Regions from separate parts of the Homo sapiens genome. Here region 2 is linked to region 1. Evidence: promoter capture Hi-C in human tissues and cell types (Jung and others, 2019). All regions are on one chromosome and are shown on one strand. The core of a region is centred on a gene start or on the middle of the fragment in contact, and the rest is flanking DNA. Distances in the headings are between cores, read along the strand shown. Region 1 holds the start of WWOX (WW domain containing oxidoreductase). Region 2 has its middle 38 kb from the start of MAF.

Region 1 (6,854 bases), core at 1-2,500:
TTTTATTTTCCTTCCTTCCTTCCTTCCTTCCTTCCTTCCTTCCTTCCTTCCTTCCTTCCTTCCTTCCTCCCTCCCTCCCTCCCTCCCTCCCTTTCTTTCCAGATTCTGGACCTATTCCAGACTTACTAAAGGAAATTCTCTAAAGGTGAGGCAGTTTTTTAAAGACAGCAGCTCTCTCTGTCGTCCATGCTGGAGTGCAGTGGCCCGATCATAGCTCACTGCAGCCTCGACTTCTTGGGCTCAAGTGATCCTCCCCCTTCAGCCTCAATGAGTAGCTGGGACTACCGATGTGCACTACCACGCCCGGCAAACTAAAAAAATAATTATTTTTGGTAAAGACAGGGGTCTTGCGATGTTGCCCAGGCTGTTCTCAAACTCCTGGCCTCAAGTGATCCTCCTGCCTCAGCCTCCTAATGTGTTTGGATTACAGGCATGAGCCACTGAGCCCGGCCTAGCTACCCTGTCTGAGTTGTGCCCACTACACAAAGGTGTCAGCTACATGTGATGTCTGTGCATTTCTGGCCTGGACCGCACATTAAGTGCTCCGTAAACATCAGTCTCTATTATCAACAGTCTCTATTATCAATCAGTCTCTATTATCATCAGTCTCTATTATCATGAGTCTCTATTAAACAACAGTCTCTATTATCACAGTCTCTATTATGTGTTTTGGCTGAAAGAAAGTTCTCTAAAACCAGGAAATCAGGAATCAGCAGTTTTAAGTTCTCCAGGTTATATTTTAACATTGTGTTCATATGCAAAACAAAGGTTGTGAATCAGCACGAATGCTGGCAAGCCCTGGAAGGTTTGTGATCACGGACTTTCACGAGACCCCAAGGCAAGGAGAGACAGAAGCCCAGGACAACAGCATGGGCGCCGCTTTTTAGTCGGGCGCCGCTTTTTGGTCAGGCGCCACCTGGACTACATTTCCCATATCCAATTGCCGGGCTCCTGCAGGATTGGCCAGAACAACGCGGAAGTGATTACGGGTCGCCCAGCAACGGGCGGAGTCCTGGCCCGAAACTGGATGCGCACGCCCCTTCCCTGCGGCGGGGAGGCTGACAAGGCTCCGCTCTATCTCTAGCGCCTCGGAGCGCTCTCCGGCTTTGCTGTCTAGCCCGGCGGCAGCGCGATCTCTTAGGCACTTTCACCGCCTTCCTCTCCAGGCCCTGCCCCTTTGACGCCGGCCGTCGCGATATTGCGGAGACTGGATTTCAGCTTCGTGGTCGGCGGAGCGGCCCCTGGAGGGCGCAGTGCGCAGGCGTGAGCGGTCGGGCCCCGACGCGCGCGGGTCTCGTTTGGAGCGGGAGTGAGTTCCTGAGCGAGTGGACCCGGCAGCGGGCGATAGGGGGGCCAGGTGCCTCCACAGTCAGCCATGGCAGCGCTGCGCTACGCGGGGCTGGACGACACGGACAGTGAGGACGAGCTGCCTCCGGGCTGGGAGGAGAGAACCACCAAGGACGGCTGGGTTTACTACGCCAAGTAAGGGGGCCGCAGTGGGGCCGCGGACGCACCTGGGACCCTGCACAGCCCACGGACGCCACCTGCGCGGGGAGGACGCGCACTCCAGCGCAGCGCGTGCGGTGCAAAGTGAAAGTAACTGTTAAGGAGCTTCAGGGAAAAGGGTCCAGGGTTCCCAGTAGGGGCCGGCCCCCTTGGTGGGCCTCGGGTCCAGCGGGGGTCACCTGGTGGCTTCCCGGCGCGCCCTCTGCTGTTCAGGATGCAGCACTGCGCGGCGCGGCGAGGGCAAAGCGGCCTCATCCCCGCCAAAAAATAAAGATGTTTTAAAAAGCGCACATGCTCAGCTCCCTCCTGCAGGCTCTGGGTTGCAGGGATAGGAGTTTTGTTGTGTTTTGTTTTGTTTTGTCCAGACCGGTATTGCTCAGTCATCCAGGCTGGAGTGCAGGGGTGCCATCATAGCCCACTGTAGCCTCTACCTACTGGGTTCAGACAATCCTCTCATCTCAGCCTCTTGAGTGGCTGGGACTACAAGCGTGCACTACTATGCCCGACTAATTTTTTAAGTATTTGTAGAGACTAGGGTCGCACCATGTTGCCCAGGCTGGTCTCGAACTACTGGGCTCAAGCAGGCCACCTGCCTCAGCCTCCAGAATTGAGATTACAGGCGTGAGCCACTGCGCCTAGCCAGGAGTATTTTTTAGTAGCAGTCCTAGATAGCTTCACTATCATTTCCTGGGAAAGTTTTGGAAACCCCAGCAGAGCCTTCATCTTTAACTGTGTGACCTTGGGCCATTGAAATAACGTTTAATCTTGGTTTTTTCACCTGTAAAATGGGTTGATACGAGGGTCAGTTCAGGCACTGTGCGTAAAGCACATAGCACCGTGTCTAGTAGGTACTCTCTGTTCCTTAACTGTCGTTCCTTGATTGCTCTTAAGATACGACAGTGCCTCTTATATCGGCACCTTAGAATCACCTAGGAAATGTCCTAAATACACGTTTTGGGTCTCCATAGAGAACCTACTGTAGCCGACTCTCAACTTTGGGAGTCTCTTTTTTTAAGCTTTCCAGGTGAGGTGGAATATCACCTGGTTTTGAGAAACATGGATGTAAATCTGATTTTCAGCATCTGGGAAACTTTTTTTGTAAGAGCCTTTTTCTGGGCCCCACTTCCAGAGGGTTTTTCTTTTTTTTTTTTCTTTTGAGACGGAGTCTTGCTCTGTCGCCCAGGCTGGAGTGCAGCGGCGCGATCTCGGCTCACTGCAGCCTCCGCCTCCCGGGTTCACGCCATTCTCCTGCCTCAGCCTCCCGAGTAGCTGGGACTACAGGCGCCCGCCACCACGCCCGGCTAAGTTTTTGTGTTTTTAGTAGAGACGGGGTTTCACCGTGTTAGCCAGGATGGTCTCGATCTCCTGACCTCGTGATCCTCCCGCCTCGGCCTCTCAAAGTGCTGGGATTACAGGCGTGAGCTACCGCTCCCGGCCTTTTTTTTTTTTTTTTTAAAGACAGGGTCTCGCTCCGTCGCCCAAACTGGAGTGCCGTGGTGCGATCTCGGTTCACTGCAACCTCTGCATGCCGAGTTCAAGCGATTCTCGTGTCTCAGCCTCCCGAATAGCTGGGATTACAGGCGCCCGCCACCAGGCCTGGCTAATTTCGCGCTGTTGGCCCGGCTGGTCTCCAACTCCTGGCCTCAAGTGATCCGCCCACCTCGGCCCCCCAAAGTGTTGGCATTACAGACAGGAGCCACTGCGTCAGCCCAGAATTTCTGATTTAATTGGTTTGGCCCCTCCCCTCTCCCTTGGTAGGTTGTAAAATCTTCCCTCCCAGGTGATTCTAATCTATGCAAGGATGTGAACCACTGCTGCCTTTGGTGGCAAGGTAGAGGAAAAACAACCAAGTTCTGATGAGTTCATTCAAGACACACACAGGTATTATGTGACAGGCCTTTGGCTGGCACTGGTTATACCGAGGCAAATAAGAGCCAGTTGTCATCCTTAGGACCCAATCTTATTAGGGCACAGTGACATGTGTAGGAGCGTCCCCACGCAGTGTGTATACCAGGAAGTAGTGTGTCTGGCATGAGGTGTGTGTAGGTAGTTGGGGGGGTCGTGAGGGAATATGGTGGCACCCTCACAGTAACCTTCACTTCCTGGGCTCAAGCGATCCTCCCGCATCAGCCTGTTGAGTACCCGGGACCACAGGTGTGTGCCTCCACACCCAGCTAATTATTACATGTTTTGTAGAAATGGGGTCTCACCATGTTGCCCAGGCTGGTTTGAACTCCTGAACTCAAGCCAGCCTCCCTCCCGAAGCACTGGAATCACAGGCCTGAGGCACTGTGCCAAGCCCAGAGCGGTGTTTTGAGCTCAAGTAGAGGTGGGTGGGGCAGGAGGGCAGTCTAGGTAGAGGGAACAGTGAGAGGAGAGACCCCCTGCATGGCCTGTCCAGGGGCCTGTGATCTTTGTGAGGGTCCAGGAATGTGAAGGTTAAGGCAGGGAAGGGAGGACCCATTTCAAGGATTTCTGTGCCTTGCCGAGAAGCTTGGGCTCTGTTGGCAGAGCCAGAGAGTGGCATTCATTCAGCTTGTGAATTCTGGAAGAATTTCTGGCTCTGGAGAATTAAAGGGACATTTCCAGCAGCAGAGCTCCAGTAGCCTTTGCAGGGACGGAGGCAAGCTCCTGAGCGGGCACTTGCTGTTCCTCTCACCTGTACATCTGTTGGGGAAAGGCTCCTTCTCATCCTTCAGAGCTGAGCTTACATGTCACTGCCCAAGAGACCTTCTTAACTGTGGGTGTCCCCTCGACCTTGTACTAGTCACCTTGTTTCTCTGCTTCTTCGTGCTTAGCCTTGGCTGTGTACTCCTCCTTGTTGGCCCTGTCTCCCTTGCCCAGGTTGCAGATGTCATGGGGCAGCTTGTTCATCTGAGTGTCCCCAGTGCTTGGCACCCAGAAGCCATAAGATGAGCCCCTGTGGGATGAGTAAATGAATCACCTTGGGAGGGTCAGCCGCAGGCTTCTGTGGGTGGGTGGGTGGTGCACTGGGCCCCAGAGTACAAAGATGCACATGACCCGCTTCCGGCTTCCTAAGCCCACCTCTGCCTCTGGCTCTGTGGGGCGTCTCCTCCTTTGCCACTCAGCCCCAGAGGTGCTTCTGCTTCCCTGCAGGCTTGCCCTGGAGCCTGGCGCTAGGGCCCTGGGGCTCCCTTGCTCCTGCGTGCCCCCTGCGCCTGCCTTCCTGCTGCCTGGCCTTTCTCCCATCTGCTTTCTTCCTGAGTGGCCCCTGGCCAGGGGACTCGGGTGCATACATGGTTTCCAAACGCCTTTCCTCCAGCCCTCCCGACTAGTGTCTTAAATCTCAAGCTGGCCTCTCTGGCTCCGCTGTTTTTTTTTTTTTTTTTTTTTTAATTTAATTTAACTTTAAATTCCGGGATACATGTGCAGGATGTGCAGGTTTGTTACATAAGTAAACCTGTGCCATGGTGACTTGCTGCACTTGTCAACCCATCACCTAGTTGTTCAGCCCCCCGTGCATTAGCTATTTATTGTATACACCAGCTGAGATGCCAGGGCTTGGCTGGCTCTCAGCTGGAGGGCTCACTCTCTGGACCTTGTGTCCGTCCCTGCTGGCCCTCAGTTCTCTGGATCAGGGTTGAAAGGCTGAAATTCTTTGGGTGTTAGCTTAGGATGCCTCTGATCCATCCTAACCCGACATTCCCTTGATCTCTCCTGATCTGTGAGCATCCTGGCCCTTCTTTTCTTTTCAGTTTTAATTTTTGCGCTGGCTCCAACCCCTTTTCATTCCTGACTCTGGAAGTGACACTTGTTTTTCTCTTGGGGTTTGGGAAACTTTGTGGTTGTTCTTTCTAGGAGGCTGCTCTTTGAGTCATTTCTTTTCCATATTGTTTCTCCTACTGTAGCAGGGCCATGGCCAGGGATAGAGGCTGTAGCTCCCACTGAGACCTCGGGGTCTGGTGGAACCCGGTCTTGTGTGGGTGCTGTCGGCCTCTCCTGCTTTCCCACCTGCCTCACGGTTCACTTGTGTGCCTCAAAGGCACACATGTCCTAGCACTCCAAAGCCCACCAGGGTGGGCTCCCAGGGGTGAGGTCGAGGTAGACCGGGAACCCAAGAGAGCTGGTGGGCCTTTCTTCTACCCCTCTCCCCTCACAGTCTCAGAGCAGCCCCTTCATGGGAGATGGGAAGTGAGGGACAAGGTCTCAGTGTCAGAGCCGTCCTTGTTTGCCCTTCCCCGTGCCTCTTATGAAGCTCAGGCCTTTTGGCAGTCAGAGGCCTCAATGGTGCCTGTGTCCACAGGGCTGGCTGTCCTCACCGTGAAGTCTAGATCTCCCTGCTAACTTACACTGTGCTCAAAACACACACACACACACACACACACACACACACACACACACTGGCTGTCCTCACTGTCAACTCTAGATCTCCCTGCTAACTTACACTGTGCTCAAAAAACACACGCACGCACGCACGCATGCACGCACATACACACACACACACACACCCATAGGCTGGCCATGGTGGGAGGCCAAGGTGGGAGGATCGCCTGAGCCCAGGAGCTCGAGGCTGCAGTGGGCTATGATTGCATCACTGTACTCTAGCCTGGGCCACAGAATGAGACCTTGTCTAAAAAAAAATTAACAGAAAACACCCCATACGTGGAAGTGTGGTATTCACATAATATGATGTTCACTTAAATTTGAATCCTTTGGTTTAAGTTTAGATTACTCTTAATTATCTTTTTAAATGACAAGCTCGTTGAAAGAATAAAAAATCAAAGACGGCTTCTATTTAAAGGAGAATAGGAGAATGCTTAGGGGACATGTGTTCTAATTTTCTCTTCATTAAAAAGTCATTTAAGGTTATAATTAAAAAGAACATCTTTTAATTAATTTTTATATTTATTAAAAAAAAGTCTTCTATTGAAAGGTACAGTTCTTAGTTCTTCCCGTGTTAACTCACTCGGTTCTCTATAACCCCAAGAAGTAAGTGCTGTTATTGTCCCCATCTAAACTGTTGAGGAAACTGAGGCATGGGATTAAATGACTTCTTCAAGGGCAGAGTGGCTGGCAAATGGGAGACCCAGAAAACCTTGGCAGTTGGGCTTCAGAATCTTCACGACCAAATTACTCTCTCTGCTTCAGCTGGTTCCGGATTCTTCCCCAGGGATGGTTGTGTCCTGCAGGGGACGGCTGGCAATGTCTGGAGATGCTTTCTGTTGCCACAGCTATGGGACTGGGGTATTGGCATCTGATGGGCAGAGGCCAGTGGTGCCCAAGGCAGCCCCGCAACAAAGAATGATGCAGGCCGGGTGCAGTGGTTCACGCCTGTAATCCCAGCACTTTGGGAGGCCGAGGCAGGTGGATCAGTTGAGGTCAGGAGT
Region 2 (7,197 bases), core at 3,703-6,202, 1.5 Mb after region 1:
AATGATGGTTTGTGCACACACTTAACATTCTTCATTAGAATGAACCACTGTTAGAAGCAGACAGCAGTTTGGTTTACCACTTGAATCAGCCCGATCACCCACATTGCAAGAACGAAAAGGCCCCAGTTATTCATGGTCCTCAACAATGTGTATCTCTATGTAAATTCTAAAGGCATGACAACTGGTGAAAAATAAACTGGGTCTTCCAGAGGGGAAGTCTTCGAGTGGCAGGTTTCAAAAGCTACAGGTTCCTCCCCAAGAGGCGCACATCCCTACCTGTTTCTCTGCCTTCCGTTCTACTAGCAAAGCCAGGAAACAAATATTAGGTGATTGAAAAGCTTGAGGCTTCCACTGTTTTATTGACTTGTCACTGCAGACAAACTGACTATAATTTACTTCAAGAGTAAATTACTAGATGTTCATAAAAAAAAAACTGCTGTACATTACTATCTGTAATTAAGATGTTAAGCATGATTCCATTTTTAAATTGGAGAAGCCAACGGAAATGAAAAATGCTGATGATGCTATATTTCACTCTAATTTTTCTTTCCCTCCTCTTGATTCTATCAATTTATTGTTTAGCTATCTGGTTGGCAGATGGGATAAAACAAAGCATGGATGCTTGAAAGTTCTCCTACCATAACACTGCTGCTTTGGTTTTATTTGTGTTGTGTTGTGTTTCTCTCCTATATCTATGTCACCTTTTTTGAGACAGGGTCTGGCTCTGTCATCTAGGCTGGAGTGCAGTGACACAATCACAGTTCGCTGCAGCTGTGAACCTCTGGGGCTCAAGCAATCCTCCTGCTTTAGCCTTCTGAGTAGCTGGGACTACAGGCATGGGCCACCATGTGTGGCTGATTATTTTTAGAACTATTTTTGTAGAGATGGGGTCTTGCTACTTTGCCCAGGCTGATCTTGAACCCCTGGCCTCAAGCAATTCTCCTGCCTCGGCTTCCCAAAGTACTGGGACTACAGGTGCACCTGGGCCAGGTGCACCACTGTACCTGGCCACCAACAGTATTCTTAAATGAAATTCCATGTCACATATTACTTTGGAGACATTATTGGTTAAATCATGAAGTGAAAAGGATTTGAGATGAACGCGAAGAGACAGGAAGCCTGTGTAAGCCTCCATCTGGACATTTCAAATTAAGTTGAACAAATACAATGTTGAAAAGGAAACATACGAACGAACAAAAAGCAAGCTGAAAAAAAAAAAACCTGAACTATTTTGTTTTTCTACAACTGTATGCAATTGTGGAAGCTGTTGAAGGATCCCAGGAACTATCAGTCCAAAATATGATGCAATGGTTTGCTGACTACTTCAAGCTAAAGGCATTTGAGAAATAGCAAATGCACAGAAGGTCTTTTTTTTTTCTTTCTGAATCTCCCTTACCTAACTAAATGCACATTTTCCATAAGATACTCACTGTCATGAAAATCCTCCTGAGGAATTTTTATATCTATCTGGGAAGATTAACACACAACAGGAATGAGCCTAGAAGTCACTGGAAATTGGCTACTCATCCAGAGAGGCCACTGCCTATTCTTCTGAAAGCCCATTCACGTTTTCATAATCCCTAGGTCACCTCCACTACCCTCCCAACTCCCCTGTGAAGGACGCCCTTCAGTGACGAGGTGTGGCGGGAAATAGGGGGAACACACAGAGCAGGACTACCTAACTGTTTTGGAGAAATTCAACAGCCATGTAGGTCTTTTTGGTTCTCAACTGCATTCAAGGTTTGCTCTACCCATCCTTGCCTAGGGGATTTCATCCACTCTGCTACCTCAATGCTGTCCTGCCGTCTACAGCTGCAAAACTTAGATTTTTAGTCTAAGTCTTTGCTTTCATCCCAAGACCTGTATCTTTAACTGGCTCTCTGACATATCAAATTCCACATGTGATGAAATCTTCTGGGTCACACTGGGCTCATGGGCACACATTTCTCTTCCACATGATGCCCCTTACACATTAACAGAATTTGTATGCTTTTCTCTTGTTCATCTGCCTATTGCTGGTGTATTTTAAACATTTTTTTTTCCTAGATGTCCTTTATTAAGTGATAAAATTTCCCTCTCTTCCTAGTTTGAAGTTTTCTTTCTTTTTTTTTTTTATATATACTTTAAGTTTTAGGGTACATGTGCACAACGTGCAGGTTAGTTACATATGTATACATGTGCCATGTTGGTGTGCTGCACCCATTAACTCGTCATTTACCATTAGGTATATCTCCTAATGCTATCCCTCCCCCCTCCCCTCACCCCAAAACAGTCCCCGGTGTGTGATGTTCCCCTTCCTGTGCCCACGTGTTCTCATTGTTAAATTCCCACCTACGAGTGAGAACATGCAGTGTTTGGTTTTTTGTCCTTGCGATAGTTTGCTGAGAATGAGGGTTTCCAGCTTCATCCATGTCCCTACAAAGGAAACATTTTACACTGGAACCTTCAGGAAAGGGAGCAGGAATCTCCACTGCCCCTACAATGTCTTGAGGAGAAGAAGAAAAAATGGTCTTCAAAGCCAAATAAAAATTAGAAGAATTATCCACACACTTCCGAATGAAACTCAATGGACTGAGAAGAGAGGAGACGGTGTGTTTGGATGTTTGACAGGAATGACCTCCAAAGCTAGGATTAACCAAGAGTAACTATTTGCCTTCATTTATACAGAAAATATTTGTTGAGCACCTGAAGTATTGCAGGGCACTCAGCTGGGTACAAGCGAGCCAAGAGTAGACACAACAGTATCTCTGGTTCAACATGAGCCGTTTGTCCCCAGGCTCACAATCACTTATGTTTGCAAGCTCAAAACCACTGGGCAGCTATTACCTCTTGTTGGTCTTCAGCGTTCTAACACATTCCTTGCTCTACTTGGAAAACATTCCCCCTTTCCATCCCTATTCCCTTAACTTCTCAAGACATAATCCTGCTCATCCCTAAATATTCAACTTAAAACATGTAATATTCAGACCACGTCTAGTCACACCATTCTGTTCCCAGTCTTTACGGTACTTGGCATAATTGTAATGAATTACTTGTGTAAAGCTCATCTACACCAACGAATTGTGAAGCAGTACAAAGACATGGACAAGGTTTGTTTTGTTCCCATTGATAGTCCCAGCATCTCACTGCCTTAAACAATAGTTTCTTCATAGATGATGTGACCCGTGAATGAATAAATGGATGGAAGGATAAGGAAATGGCAAGTGAACTCCCTCACCAGCTCCAGGACCTATAGGAGTCAGAGATATAGTTATTACCCTTGGGAAAAATACATTTTGTAGGCTTAAAGGCCCATTGTCTAACCAGACCACAAAACATTTCTTTACATCATCTACACCCTGGCTGCCAACTAACACCACAGAAGGTCTTTCAGCCTTGTCCCTGAACACAGACCTAAGAACACAAATTTCTCAACATCTGTAGACCTCGGACTCCAGGCTGAAGTGCCAAGATCTCTCTAATCCTCATTCTTAATCCCCCATGCTTTGGAGAAGGCCACCCACTCACCACAAAGCTGTTGTCCAGGGCTCCAACTCAGTATTGTACTCACTCCTAGGAAAACAAGTGGAAGATGAAGAGGAGACATCATCCCACCCAGGAAGTGGGTCTGGTTATGAGACCGTCATACTTGCCTGCCTGGATTCAGGCCCCTCCCCAGGTCCAGAAAACAGAGTAGATCTTTCCCTTCTTTTTCAGATCCAAATCAAATTCAAACAAAACAAAAGCAAAAATCCTTCAGGCCTCAATTTCAAATTCAAATGTGTCTACTGGTCAGCAGGTTCATTTGTGCCTCCTCCTGTCCATTCATCCGTTCAGCAAATATCAAGTCAGTGTTACATCTAGGCTTGCACTAGGTGGTTATACTATGGAAACAGACAGCAGAACTTACGCTCAGGAGGATTTATCGTACGGGCTGAAGGCTGTACCCATAAAGCACTGGACTTTCCAGACACCAAAGCTAAACCTCAATCTGGCAGGTAAAGGTTTTCAACTGGATAACTCAAGTAACTCTGAAAACTCTAGAGCTTAGTGCATCGTCTCATGTGACAGCCGCTGCCCATGTGTGGTTACAGAACACTGGCAATGTGGCCAGTGTGTCTCTAGAACTAAATTATTAATTTTGTTTGACTCTAACTACTTTGTGTTTAAATTTAAAAACTGAAGCAGTGAAAATATTGTTTCTTTCTGTTAAGTACATCTTTATTGTTGTGGTCAAACTCCATTTCACTTTAACCTTATTGAACATTTAGAATCCAAATTGAGATATACATCAAATTTTAAAGACTTGGCACCAAAAAAAAAAAAAGATTTGTGAAATATCTCAGTAATACATTTTTTATAATGAGTATGCATTGATATCATAATACTTTTGATTTATGGCATTTAAAATAATATTAAAAATCATTTTAGCTGTTTCTCTTTACTTTTTTAAATGAGGCTGTTACAAAATTTAAGATTTAAAATGTGGCTTACATTATATTTCTTATTGGACAGCTATAGATGTCTTAATAATTAGCTAGCAAACACACACACACACACACACACACACAAACACACACACGTGTGACCACTGAGATGTTCTCAGGGAGTTTTCATATCTGATTCCTTACACTCACCTAGCAATTCTGGTTGAGAAGTAAAAAGCCTTCTACTCCTTTTTAATTTCACATCCAAAAAGTATCATCCAAACTCCTCAGGACAGGATCACCTGTGATCATTTTTGGATGTTGGGAAAGCCAGCCTCAAACTATTAGCTTAGGTTTGAAGTTTATTCTTAATCTAGTTCATAATTCCACGTATTTCAAAGGAAAAAAGAGAGACCTTTCAGGCAGGTGGGATGCATTTCAAGTGGAGCAGACCCTGCTTTCAACAGATTCCCTCCCCCATGGCCACTGCCGCCCCTTCAGGCCTCCTGGGATTTCTGCTAAGTGGCTTTCACTACATAATTAAATGCAAAGTCCTGGCAGGGCAGCGTTCCTCCTCTTTACCTTAGCAATTTTTTGTTTTGTTTTGTTTCAGGAGAAGACGGAAGGAGTATTTCTTGGTCCTAGGAAGTGTGCCTGCCTTGCTGGAAGACTTCTTTTTTGCATTTGTTACCTAGAAGTTTCTTTCTTCTAGTTGCGGGGGAGAAGGAAAGAAGAATTATGGGGAAGAAAAGTGAGGAATCAGTTTATAGCCGAATAAGGTCAACAGTGTCAACTGGGGACCCAGAGATAGGCAAGGGGGAAGTAGCTATGAACTGGGCACACTGGTTTACTTAGAAATAATACATCTTTGAGCCTGATAACTTCCCTGATGGAAGAAGACTTCCACTGGGCACATCCTGAAGAAGCCGCACTGTTTACAAAGTACTGTCACCCACAGCGCCTTCTTTTGTCCATGTGACAACTCTCGGGGCATGGAGCACCCTGTGGCAGCCCACAGTGGTCCGACCCACCCATCTTCTTTGTTAATGAAAGTCAGGATTTTATTCAGGTCTGCCCAGACAGTGTGGCTGTGGGGAAATCTGGCAGATCCCCAGCCCTGTGGAGCATGTGTGGGGTGAACCTTGACCAGTCCAAACCTGTAATGGTTAATTGCATAACCAAGGCCAACCATTGACAGAGGGATGGACGCCTGACAATTGCAGCCTATTAACTATGTGGGGAAGCGACTTCTGCAAAACATTCCTTGCTCTTACGAAGGAATAAAGGGCTGCACACTCTCTGCCTCTGGTTTTGGGTGGGCTGGTGTAAAAAATGTGGTACCTCGAACCTTACACATGTCTTACATCTGAAGCTTGAGAATGGTGGAGCTGGGAGAGGGCAAGAGTCCGGGCCCTGACATCATTCAGCTGTGGAAATAAACAGCTTTGCAAGGGCACCTACCCTTGGACTTCTTACGGGAGATAACTAGTCCCAGGGTGTTCACACCATTCAGAGCCAAATTTTCTGCTACCAAAGACCCAAAATACCCAGTTACAATCCTCTACGTTGCCTCTGCAAGCTGGGTCTATGGGAGTTGAACCCGGCCCAATTACCTGTTTTTGTGGAAAAAAGAAGCTTTATTGAAACACAACCAGGGGCATTCATTTACATATTGTCGATGGCAGGGTTGAGCAGCTGCAGCAGAGATCATGTGGCCCTTGAAACCTAAATGATTGACTACCTGGCCATTTACAGAAAAGGTCTGCTGACCTGGGACTATGATATCACAACTCTCCCTTACCTCCCTTTCACTCAGTGATATGGTTTCGCTGTGTCCCCACCCAAATCTCACCTTGAACTGTAGGTCCCACAATCTTCACGTGTTGTGGGGGGGGGGACCAGTTGGGAGGTGACTGAATCATGGGGGTGGTTACCTCCATGCTGTTCTTGTGATAGTGAGTTCTCATGAGATCTGATGCTGTTATAAGGGGCTCTTTTCCCTTCGCTCAGCACTTCTCCTTCCCGCCTTCATGTTGCTTCCCCTTCTGCCATAATTGTAAGTTTCCTGACGCCTCTCCAGCCATGCTGAACTCTGAGTCAACTAAACTTCTTTCCTTTATAAATTACCCAGTCCCAGGTATGTGTTTATTAGTATAAGAATGGACTGATAAACTTAGCAGGCTCAGGGATGTTGAAAACCCTATACTGAGAGCACTATTCTGAAATATTCCGAGGTAGGCAGTATTTTCTCCCACTTGATAGATGAGGAAACTGAAGTTCAGAAAGAGACAGTCTCTTGCTTCAAGTCACACAGCTAGAAACTGACAGGACAAGGATTGGACATCAAGTCTGGCAGACTCTAGGCCATGCACAATTCACCCTGCACTGATAGACCCTGGGCCACTCTGATCCTCCTGGCTCTTAGGTCTAGGTTTGTGTATTAAAAACAAACAAACGCAACCAAACAAAACCCAACCAACTCACAGGTAATTCTGATCTGCATCCAGAACAACATCTCTGTAGATCATCAGTTTCTTTTTTTTAAAGAAATGTACATATCCATATATCTGTAAGGACCAATTAATTGCCAACACTCTGCCATTAGAGATACAAAGACAATCCCCATGCATCAATATAGGACACAGTTTCATCTTTGTGGCACTTTTAGACCAATGTGGGACAGATTAATCTTAGGGTCTTACAAAAGGCTGTAAGAGCTGAGGGAATGGTCGGAGGGGCCTGGGCTGGGATTCACAGCAGGGAGTGGGGACTGTACTGCAAGACCCCCAGT

What was found. Contacts are between HindIII fragments. The study calls those that stand out against the background at their distance.
Region 2: a contact is called between a fragment that was not itself captured here and the fragment with the promoter of WWOX in region 1, in 1 of the 25 tissues and cell types used here (dorsolateral prefrontal cortex).

What each region holds. Positions count from the first base shown.
Region 1 is chr16:78,098,404-78,105,257 of GRCh38, forward strand. WWOX (WW domain containing oxidoreductase) reads left to right here and starts at 1,251. Exons shown (of 9, transcript NM_016373.4): 1 at 1,251-1,482. The coding sequence starts at 1,376. RefSeq lists an enhancer at 1,485-1,984. The HindIII fragment of the contact is 7,138 bases long and covers 1-3,260 here.
Region 2 is chr16:79,559,214-79,566,410 of GRCh38, forward strand. It overlaps a transcript of MAF not described here. Among named protein-coding and RNA genes, the nearest start is that of MAF, 38 kb to the right of the region's middle. The HindIII fragment of the contact is 3,788 bases long and covers 3,059-6,846 here.